Linked DNA regions of Homo sapiens: region 2 is linked to region 1. Evidence: promoter capture Hi-C in 16 types of primary human blood cells and fetal thymus (Javierre and others, 2016). All regions are on one chromosome and are shown on one strand. The core of a region is centred on a gene start or on the middle of the fragment in contact, and the rest is flanking DNA. Distances in the headings are between cores, read along the strand shown.

What was found. Contacts are between HindIII fragments. The CHiCAGO score rates a contact against its expected background, and 5 or more counts as called.
Region 2: a fragment that was not itself captured here is called in contact with the fragment with the promoter of GNPAT in region 1 in 1 of 17 cell types (total B cells); the score reaches 5.4 in total B cells.

The regions. Positions count from the first base shown.
Region 1 is chr1:231,237,100-231,242,510 of GRCh38, reverse strand. It overlaps GNPAT (glyceronephosphate O-acyltransferase), which reads right to left and starts at 1,299. Exons shown (of 16, transcript NM_014236.4): 1 at 1,055-1,299. The coding sequence starts at 1,132. It overlaps FSAF1 (40S small subunit processome assembly factor 1), which reads left to right and starts at 1,336. Exons shown (of 7, transcript NM_152379.4): 1 at 1,336-1,487; 2 at 3,323-3,654. The coding sequence starts at 1,370. RefSeq lists enhancers at 397-1,286, 1,267-1,606. The HindIII fragment of the contact is 8,993 bases long and covers 1-5,310 here.
Region 2 is chr1:230,670,333-230,675,389 of GRCh38, reverse strand. It overlaps COG2 (component of oligomeric golgi complex 2), which reads right to left. Exons shown (of 18, transcript NM_007357.3): 8 at 3,750-3,874; 9 at 266-392. It overlaps LOC107985358 (a long non-coding RNA gene), which reads left to right. Exons shown (of 2, transcript XR_001738517.1): 2 at 180-445. Among named protein-coding and RNA genes, the nearest start is that of COG2, 30 kb to the right of the region's middle. The HindIII fragment of the contact is 646 bases long and covers 1,550-2,195 here.

The DNA.
Region 1 (5,411 bases), core at 50-2,549:
AGAAACCGAAAGGTCTTGATAGAGAGGGAACAGAAGTTTCTCCATGTTCCAAAGAATATTGGTGTCTCAATTTGAAGGAACCCATATATTCTCTTTCAAAACTGGGGTGTTTATCTTGCTCTGCTGTGTTATCCCTGTTTTGACCTTTCTGCACAAATGAACACTACATTTAAGCCAAAATTGGACAGTAATCACCAGGATATGCTAATATGCTTTTAAAATGAATTCTTTCATTTTCTCCTAAAGTAGCTAAAAACTAATTTAGTGGTTAAAAACAACAAGAAACAAACAAAAACCAAACCAGTTGCCCCAGGTCTGTGCAATCCTGAAGGCTATAAAGCTCCCATCTCATAATTTCTTCATGAAAATCGTGGGTGACCAACATCTGCCAGCCAAAAAGACCCGTTAAAACCAAGAGAGGAAGAGGGGGTTGGAGGAAAAAAAGACAAGCGGGAGAGAAGCTGGGTGGCGCTGGCTGTCCTCCAAAATGATTTGTGGAAAAGGTACAATAATGACTGGAAGACAAGAACAGGCAATAAAAATGTCTAGAAGTTCTAAATTTTCCTGAAGTGTTTAAAACTCTATTCCCACATACAAGCCAAGTGCTCTACTCCCAGGAATATAACAGCAGCATAGGGCGGGGTGCGGAGCCACAGGCTATCTCAGGGCGGGTCAAACCCGCAAGTTTCTCAGGTTTGCCCAAAAGGTAGCTCGACATGCCCTCGCTAGAGATGGGGAGACTCCAATTCTCATTCCTCATTCTCGTGTCCAGGAGCTTTCTGAAGGCCCCAGGGCCTGATAGAAAGAAAGAGAAGGAAAAAGTGGAAAGGAACCAAAGGAACCATAATCCGTAGAAACTTCCAAAAGCATGCACACACAGACACACAGCGATACACTGTTGTCCTGGAAACCAATCCAACCAACTAACCCCTCCTCGGGAGCCTAGGGGCCAGCTCTTTTGGGCAAGGGTGGTGGGCCGGAGGAATAGGGACTGGGAGAAAGGGGTACTATTTCGCGCGGCTCCGCTCTGGGCCTCTTTTCCCTGGGCGCCTACCGAGTAGAGGAGCACGACAGCGCTGGGACTGGTTGGGCCAACGGAGAAATAAGAGTTAGATGAACTGGAAGACTCCATGGTGCGGCTGCCTTCCCGGGCGGGGTCTGGGATTCTTTGCTAAGCCGTGGTGGTGCTCCTGCTGGGGGCGGTTCTTTCGCTCAGGACGGCCCTACTTCGCCTAGGGCGGCGGCACCCTCTGCAGCCGCTACACAGGATCCCGGGCGCCGCCATCTCAGCCAGGACGGAAGCCGCGCAGGGCCCTGCAGCGCATGCGCGCAGTCGCGGAACCCGGAAGCGGGGGTGCAGCGCGGCAGAATGAGGGTTGATTCCTCGGCTGACCCCACAATGTCGCAGGAGCAAGGGCCGGGGTCCTCCACGCCTCCCAGTTCTCCGACACTTCTTGACGCTCTGCTCCAGAACCTTTACGACTTTGGTGAGTGCGGGGTCCCAGGAGCCCACGTGGAGAACAGATTTGAGGAACGTGGGTCTCCTGTGTTGCCCGTCCTGGGTTGGCCTCTGCTTTGAGGCTAAAGGTTCTTGCATGTCAAGCACCCTTCGTCCCACCTGGTTCCAGTAGCGAACACATTTCTCCATCGGAAGTCACCCCTCGACCGGGCTCTGCTGAGTTATTCATCAAACCTTCCAACTCGTCCCCAAGTGTGGGGACCATCCTACTTGCTTGTAGGAAGCACCAAGGCTTTCCGATTTAAAAGTAGCCCGCTTTTCCACGTTTTCTTGAGCCCTGGGAAGTCCCCTTTCCCCATGCCACCCCCAAGACCTGCCTGACCCTGGTGCGATGGTGTCATTTCGCTCTGGGGCCTCGGGCCTGTTGGATAATACACCAGCTTCATCCTTGTGTGTCCCTCTCCAGAGACATCATAGTCCTTGGCGAGTTGTCCTTTTCACGACTTTTTTTTTTTTAAACAAGTGCGCTGATCTTTTACTCTCCGTTCTTTGTCTTGATGGGGGAAAAGGAAAATAAAAGAGCCTATTAAAGTCGCATGGCATGTCAGTAGGAAGACAGTGCCTCATACTCTGAAGAGCTTTCCCGGGAGAAGGTGACACCCTTTGCACATGCACCAAAGAAAATCATTAGATTTCAGGACAACACACATTTCTTAAATTTACAGCGTGATATTTTAAAAGCTATTTTTATTTTGGAATGACTGCTCAAAATTCTAAGTTCACCTAAACAGTAGGAATAATAGTTAAAACTGTTGAGAACTTGCCATATAGCACATGCTTTTCGTGTATTTGCTCATTTAATTTTCAACTTCATGAAATAGACACTGTCATAAATCCATGATTGCAGATGTAGAAACAAGTACTAGAAGTTCATGAAACCTGATGCAGGTTGTCTGACTGGTAATTTTTGCAGAGCCTGGGTTCTGATTCTAGCCCCAGACCCCATGCTTGTATTAACTAGCATTTCTGTGCCCTTGGACATATTGGAGGACAGAGAAGACTTAGTCTCTGACCTTGAGAAGTTTAAAATCTAGAGGAAAAGACTATTCTGCAAAATAATATAGTTCATGTCAACACAGGCTGGAAATCATGGTAGGAGCTCTGAAGGCATTGAATGTGTCTATTCATTTTTATATCCTTAATGCCAAAGTTTAGTTGGCTCTTAAATGTTTATTGTATAAAAGATTAAGCAAATAGTAGCAAGCATAAATCAGCAGCTGGTAATTTAGAGAGCTCTGTGGTATTTGTAATACATGTGAGTAAGGATGCCTAGGATTCTGGTTAGAACTTTCAGGTGACTGGTCAGAGCTTCAACAAGTGAAATATAGAAAGAGGAATTAATAGAAAACAAAGGCATTCAAATTGAGCCAGTTGTCTTAGGTTCATCTTAATTCCTAACTGTGAAAGAAAATAGGAAGACTATTCCATGTTCCTGTAACCCAGAAAGTGTTAAAAAGAAACAGTGGCTGCAGTGCCTGATATTTTTAGTATAAAGCCAATTGGGATTACCAGCCCTGGGGACTATTGCTGTGATGACACTTTGAGTAGGAACCAAAGTGGAGACTAAAGTGATTGTGCTAATAAGGGTCAAAGACATAGTTACCTAGGAAAAGATGACTACATTTTGGATTCTCTGCATTTTGCAAATACACTTATTTGAAAGAAAACAAATAGTTTATTTCTTTGTGTGTGCTTCTAGGTGCATATAGCCCTGGAATATGTACAAATACATTCGTAGGATTTGATACTGATGATAGCTAAGACTGAAAATATTTATTTTCCTTCTTGTGTTTGAACAAACAGGAGGTACAGAAGGTGAAACAGAACAGAAGAAGATCATAAAGAAAAGGGAAAACAAGAAGAGAGATGTGATGGCTTCAGCGGCCTTGGCAGCAGAGCCATCTCCCCTACCTGGTTCTCTCATAAGAGGCCAGAGGAAGAGCGCTTCGAGCTTCTTCAAGGAACTTAGAGAAGAGCGGCATTGTGCTCCTTCTGGGACCCCCACAGGACCAGAGATCCTTGCTGCTGCAGTTCCTCCCTCTTCCCTAAAGAACAATAGGGAACAAGTAGAAGTGGTAGAATTTCACAGCAATAAAAAAAGAAAATTGACGCCAGATCATAACAAGAACACAAAGGTAATGAGTTGGTTAGCTTATATATACGTGGTGAACCCCCTGGTATTGTAGTATTAGGTGAATAGCTCTTTAGACTGTGGCAGGAATGCCTGACTATCCTCAGGCCTGCAGATTTGCCAAAAGGACTCACAGGACCCAAGACTCAGCATATAGCCCTTATCAGTCATGTAGGCCTACAGACTGACCTTAGTTATTCAAGTTCTAGACCTCCAGTGAAAAGCAGGTATTCACCATCAATCACATTGCTAGTATAAACTGTCTGGGAAAACTTGGTACAGCAGTGGCTCAAGACCTCAGGTATGCAAAAACACTCTGATCAGGCAGAATATTCTAATTGCTCAATTCTCAGGAGGCAGCCAACTGCCAGTCATGAAAATAGGACTTTCTTGGGAATGTGCAGGGTTTGGTAAACACAGGCCTGCTGAGTTAACTCTTACAGCAACTCTTTCTGGCATTCCTGTTATGTGCTAGCCACAGTTGTAGGCACTGGGATATAGCAGTGAACCAAATGTATAGAAATTCTTGCTCTCGAGGAAAAGCAATGCTGGTGGAAAAGCAATTTGATTTTTCTGAGCAGTAATCTTTTTCAGAGTGAGCTTGTAAATCTCACCTAAAATTCAGTCCCCAAGGGAGGTGTGGTTGCTCCTCCAAATGTTTTTAATTTTTTTTTTTTTTGAGACGGAGTCTCGTTCTGTTGCCCAGGCTGGAGTGCAGTGGCACGATCTTAGCTCATTGCAAGCTCCACCTCCCAGGTTCATGCCATTCTTCTGCCTCAGCCTCCCAAGTAACTGGGACTACAGGTGCCTGCCACCACGCCTGGCTAGTTTTTTGTATTTTTAGTAGAGTCAGGGTTTCACCATGTTAGCCAGGATGGTCTTGATCTCCCGACCTCGTGATCTGCCCGCCTTGGCTTCCCCAAATGCTGGGACTACAGGCGTGAGCCACTGCGCCTGGCCCCAAATGTTTTTAATTTATCTATTCACAAGAATATCATAATGGCTTTGACAAATTCATTGCTATTCCATTTCTGTAACATCCCCCACGTCCTGCAAACCTTTGTCTATCAACAAAGAAGTGAGGATTGAACGTATTAGTTTCTAAGCCTGCTATAACAAATTACCACAAACATGGTGACTTAAACCAACAGAAATGTATTCTCTTACAGTTCCGTAGTCCAGAAGTCCAAAATCAAAGTGTTGGCAGGGCCATGCTCCCTCTGAGGGCTTTGGGGGAGAATCCTTTGCCTCTGACCAGAAGGTAGCTCTAACAGTTTCCTTGGCTTGTGGTTGCATAACTATAATCTCTGCCTCCGTCTTAATGTGGTTTTCATCCCTGTGTCCCTGAGTCTCATGTTTCCCTCTGCCTTCCTCTTTGCTTTAGGCCCACCCTGAATCTGGGATGATCTCCTTTTGAGATGTTTAATTATAAAGATCCCTCTCCAAGTAAGATCACATTCACAGGTTCTGAAGAGGAGTAGGACATGGCCATATGTTTTTAGAGGCCACAATTCTACCCACTACGAAGATGGTTTGGCTTGCATTGTTCTTTATGAATGTATAAATGTATGTTAGTGTCCAGTGTTTGCCACATCTTTATGGTTTTAAAAACCATCTGTATAATCTTTTCTAAAATTCAGGTAGCATTTCATATCAAGCTTGCTGGCATCTCTTCCTCAAAGATCGTTAGCGCATTCTGCAGGCTGAGCGTGGTGGCTCACGCCAGTAATCCGAGCACTTTGGGATGCCAAGGCCAGAGGA
Region 2 (5,057 bases), core at 623-3,122, 570 kb after region 1:
AAAATAATGTACATTTCTACTCACACTTGTATCTAGCCTTAATTATACTTTATATTATAAAATGAAAATGTTCTTATTCCTAAAAGTATCATACATCATATCTTGGATAAAACGATGTGTGTGTTTTAAGGTTAAATGTTCACTTAGCAACTCAAATTTTTATTTTTAATAAACCACAGAACCAAGACTAAGTAGAAGAGAACATGATATTTCTCCAGTCTCCGGTTAACATCTTCAAGAATCAAGACGACGGGCGGGGAGATACCTCATGAAATGCATCGGGATTCCCAGGATTAAAAAGCGAGGGTAACTTTTCTTCTAATCCTTGTACTATTTGTGGCCAAACAGAATTCACCAAAAAGTCATATCCAGGAACAGTATTGCCTTTTTCACTGTAAAATAAGGGCACATATCAGTAAAATATACCATAATCTACTTACAAAGAGCAAATTTCCACTGTGTTGCTTCTGCCAAAAGATCCGCAGTCTAAAACTTATTTCAACTTTTTAAAAAAACCGTATTTGTAATTTAGTTTGTTTCCAGACTCAAGTTTCTATTTCACTCCTTAATTTCAGTCTCACCTCAAACCTGGCAAATCTCCTAGATCCTGACTCCTCCAGCTGGTGTCAAGGCTAAGGGAAGCCACATAAAATCACCTTGGTACACTTTTCCCTCTAAAATACTTCCCAACCCCTTTATACTCCTATCTTGGAAACAAAAAGTACAGTAGTCTAATACCACAGGAAAAATAACCTTCACATTACTGAACACCACTAAACCACACAGCATTGTAAGTTATGCTAATTTATAAATTACTAACAGCTTTGTATTTACTAAGCTATCTCTAAGATTACTTTCAGTTCTAAAATTCTATGACTATCAAATGTGAAATCTTATCACAAATCTTGACACAAAAACCTGTTAACAGATTAATGTTTTATTTTGTGTGTGTGCCTGTCTTGTTTTGTCTTTTTTTAGCACCAGACTTTTAAATTCCAAATTCCCAAATGTAGATGACAGGCAGCACTGACAGAAAGCATGCGCTTTGGAGCTGGTGTGCCTGATTCAGATATTGGAGGGCGGGCAAATCATTTAACTTCTCTGTGCTTGGTTTCTTCATCTTTAAAATGGTGATGATCATAGTACCAACTTCACAAAGTCATTATAAGAATTAATATTTGTAAAGTACTTAGGATAGTGCCTAACATATAGTAAAAGCCCTATGTTAGTAACGGTTAAATAACGGAGATTCCTTAAGTCGCTCACAAACTCAAAGATCCATAAACATCCATTCTAGGCAAACACCATTTCACTAATCTGCCCACTTTGTTTCATATTGGGTATTCTGCTCTATTTCAAGGTAATTTTTTAAAATGGCAAACAATTTAATAAATGTTCTATTTTAGCAAAACTGGGAGTTTTGTAGCTAAGTTGCCATGTCAAAACGGGACTTAACATTCTGGTAAGTATTAAAATAAATTTTTTTAAAGTTTTCATAATTTTCCTGCTTAACAAAAATTATCAAGACAGATAAGTTATCAAGGAAGCTTTGCTTCACTGTCCAGGAAGAGCTAGCAAATAATGTTATTATAGTTTCACCTAAGTATTGTTAGGAAATTACTGGTGGGGGTGGAGGAGGGCCAGGAAGGGGAAAGAAGATGACTGCCTCCCATATATCCAATTCCACACATCATATTATACACTTCCAAATAATAGGAAGAGCAGGCTCTGTTAAGGTATCTAGAGAAAGAAAGCACAAAATTGAGGACTCCAAACTACAGATATACATAATGTAATCACTATTAAATGACAACATTTCCTCATTCCCAAAGTTAATGTCTAATCAAATCCCCAAAGAGAGAATGTAAAACCTGCAAGATTAACAGTTGATGGATTAGAAAAGCTCATCTGTATTCTCTGGAGGAGAAATCACGAATGTTGTTGGTGTTGCCAGTTATAAAGCTCATGAAGGGTGGCACATGATAAAAGAAAGGAGTGACAAGGGGAGCACCAAGCTGGAAATCTGAAGCCAGGAGCCGAGCAAGGGAAGGAAAGGGATATGCAGAACCTGCAACACAGTGACAGGCTAGCGGCAGATGATGATCTCGCAAGGTACAGTTCAGATTCCTCAAATCTCTAAGCCTTCTACATGAATTCCCCCACACTAAAAACTGTGGAAAAGATCCACTAAAGCTTTGAAGCTTGACATCTCTGGACCCAGACTGGCCCTGTCAAATCTAATGGCTGATTGTTTCATATCTATGGCTTCATTTTACATCATGATTTCTACTATGTTCTTATCCCCAAATCCAACTAAATCCTTATGATTACTAAACAAAAGTAGCAAAACTAGACTTCATCTTAGGTGGTACAGAGGAAACAGAGAGGGTACTGCAAAGGCCAAGCAGCATATTAATTACCCCATATTTCTGCAAAGAACAAAAACTCAAGGCCAAATACATTGCTTGCTCCATGAAAACAGAGACCTTATTTGCCTTTCGATCATTAAACATAGTTAATTCTTTCATTTTGCAAGCACTAACTGGGCAGCTGCTAGCTCTAAGACACTGTGTCAAGAGGCAGGGGAAGGTGTGAGCAGCGGAGAGGTGATCATAATGCAACATGGAAATCAGTACTCAGCAGACCCAAGAGCAACACATCCTGCAATCCAGAGGACATGATGAATGCTGAACATTAGGAGAAAAAATGGCCTTTTTTTTTTTTTAAGATGGGGTTTTGTCATGTTGCCCAGGCTGGTCTTGAACTCCTGGCCTCAAGCGATTCACCTGCCTTGGCCTCCCAAAGTGCTGGGATCACAGGTGTGAGCCACTACGCCCGGTCAAGGATGGTCTCTTGAAGGAGGTGGTATCTGAGCTGGAGCTTCATGTGGAGAGGCAGTTTGACAGGAAAACAAAGGGCACAGGAAGGGGAGGGCAGGCAGAGGAAAAACGCAGAAGCACGTGAGTACAAGGGAGCTGGGGAAAGGCAGCTAGCACTGTGTGGCTGGAGCATCCAGGGCTATGGAGGGAAAGTTTCTACAGTGGAGAGCTACCAGGCAAGAACAAAAAGGGCCTCATGCCCTGCTTCGAGAAGCCTGGATCTTCCTCCATGCGCACTGAGAAGCCACTAAAGATTCATGAAGAAATCTATGAATCTCAGATTTCTGGGTAAATGTGACAGTCAGAAGCCTAGACTAGAGAGGGAGAGACTGGAAGCAGGGAGACAGGGTGGGAAGATTCTATTATTGTGGACAGCAGATGACAAGGCCTGGACTGGGACAATGGCAATGGTGAAAAGTAATGGGATATTTATGAAAGAGAATCAGGAAGTCATGGAAACTGAACAAAAGGAGGAAAAATTGAAGATGAGTTCACAATTAGTATAAAACCTGTTGAAATAAACTGAATTAATATTTATAGACAGATTATGACATATTAGAATCATGGAAGGAAAGCAATTCTGACTTCAAACTAAATTTAGGAAAAAGTGCAGAGAAGAAGAAAGGCTAGGCTTTGGATTCGGAAATGTGGTCTTCAGTCTCAGCTTCATCTCAGTTTCCACAACTTTGAAATGAGGCTAATGGAATCTGCCTCACAGTATCACCAGTAGAAACAATGAAATAACAAGATTCATAATGGATTCATACAAGACAGTTCATACAAGACAGTCATCGTCCATCGTGCACCTGCAATTAGCAGGTGCGGTCACTGAAAGGGAGGTGGGGGTCCACACAGGGTTGTTTAAATTACCTGGAGATGGCACCTCCTGTGACTTCTCGAAGAAGGCGGCAATGGTGAGGAACAAACTCCAGGAGTTTATTATACATGACCTGAAGGCCATTGGGATGAGATTCAACAAACTGCTCTATAATCACCTATTAAAAGAAAAATCATTTTTTAAAAAAGCATTTAAAAGGGAAGTACAAACGATCTATTTCAGAGAAAACAATAAAGAAAACTTTACAAATCTGCTTCCTCACACTCACCCTCCTCCCTGTGACACATTTTCTAAACAGTGAAGTAAATAACAGGTCACATTCAAAACTACTTCCTTGGATTAGGCTGTACAGATACAACTGTGGGGGAGACATGGGCTGACAAACCATGCACTCTCATCTGCTTCCCTGGGAGTCTGAAAATAAAATAACAACTTTTAAAAAAAGATTTAAAGCAGAGCACATGATTCGCCACCACAACTCCTCACTGTCTTCATCCTGGCCTTTTTTTCTACCATCATTCAGATTAGGGAAGGGTTTGAGGCAGAGAAAGACAGAAGAAAATATATTAGTTCATTATTTTATTTTTTGTGATAAAATTGGGAGACAAGAATGATATGACAAGATAAGCTGAGTTTAAATAAAACACAATGTGGCTACTGAATTTAATATGCCACTGAAAGTTCAAATAGTTCTTTAATTTAGCACACTAGATTCAGTTCCGTGAAAAAGGAATAGATTAGTGACTAAAATATTTTCATCGGTTGGGCGCAGTGGATCACGCCTGTAATCCCAGCACTTTGGGAGACCAAGGCAGGCAGATCACTTGCGCTCAGGAGTTCAAGATTAGTTTGGACAACATGGCAAAACCTCATCTCTACAAAAAAAACATTAGCCAGGCATGGTGGTGTGTACCTGTAGTTCCAGCTAATTGGGAGGCTGAGGTAGGAGGACTGCTTGAGCCCAGGAGGTTGAGGCTACAGTGAGCCATGATCATGCCTCTGCACCCCAGCCTGCGTGACAGAGTGAGACCCTGTCCCCCAAAGCACAAAAAAATTTTTTCACTTATTGACAAAGAAATAATGTATGTAATTTTTTCACCCCCATAGAGACAGCTATGGAATATAACATGATATAAACAGAGAGAACTGAAATATCATTTATTTTTAGTAATCTTAACAAGGCCAAAATAATTATTAAAATGAGTCCCTACATTTCATTTTTATCATTGGGAGTCTCAACTTTCCACTTTAAAAAATAAAAGACTTTCACCCTGAAATCATGTGAGTATAATCTTTGTATTTACTAACAGTCAGAACATTCATACTGACAGGACACTGGA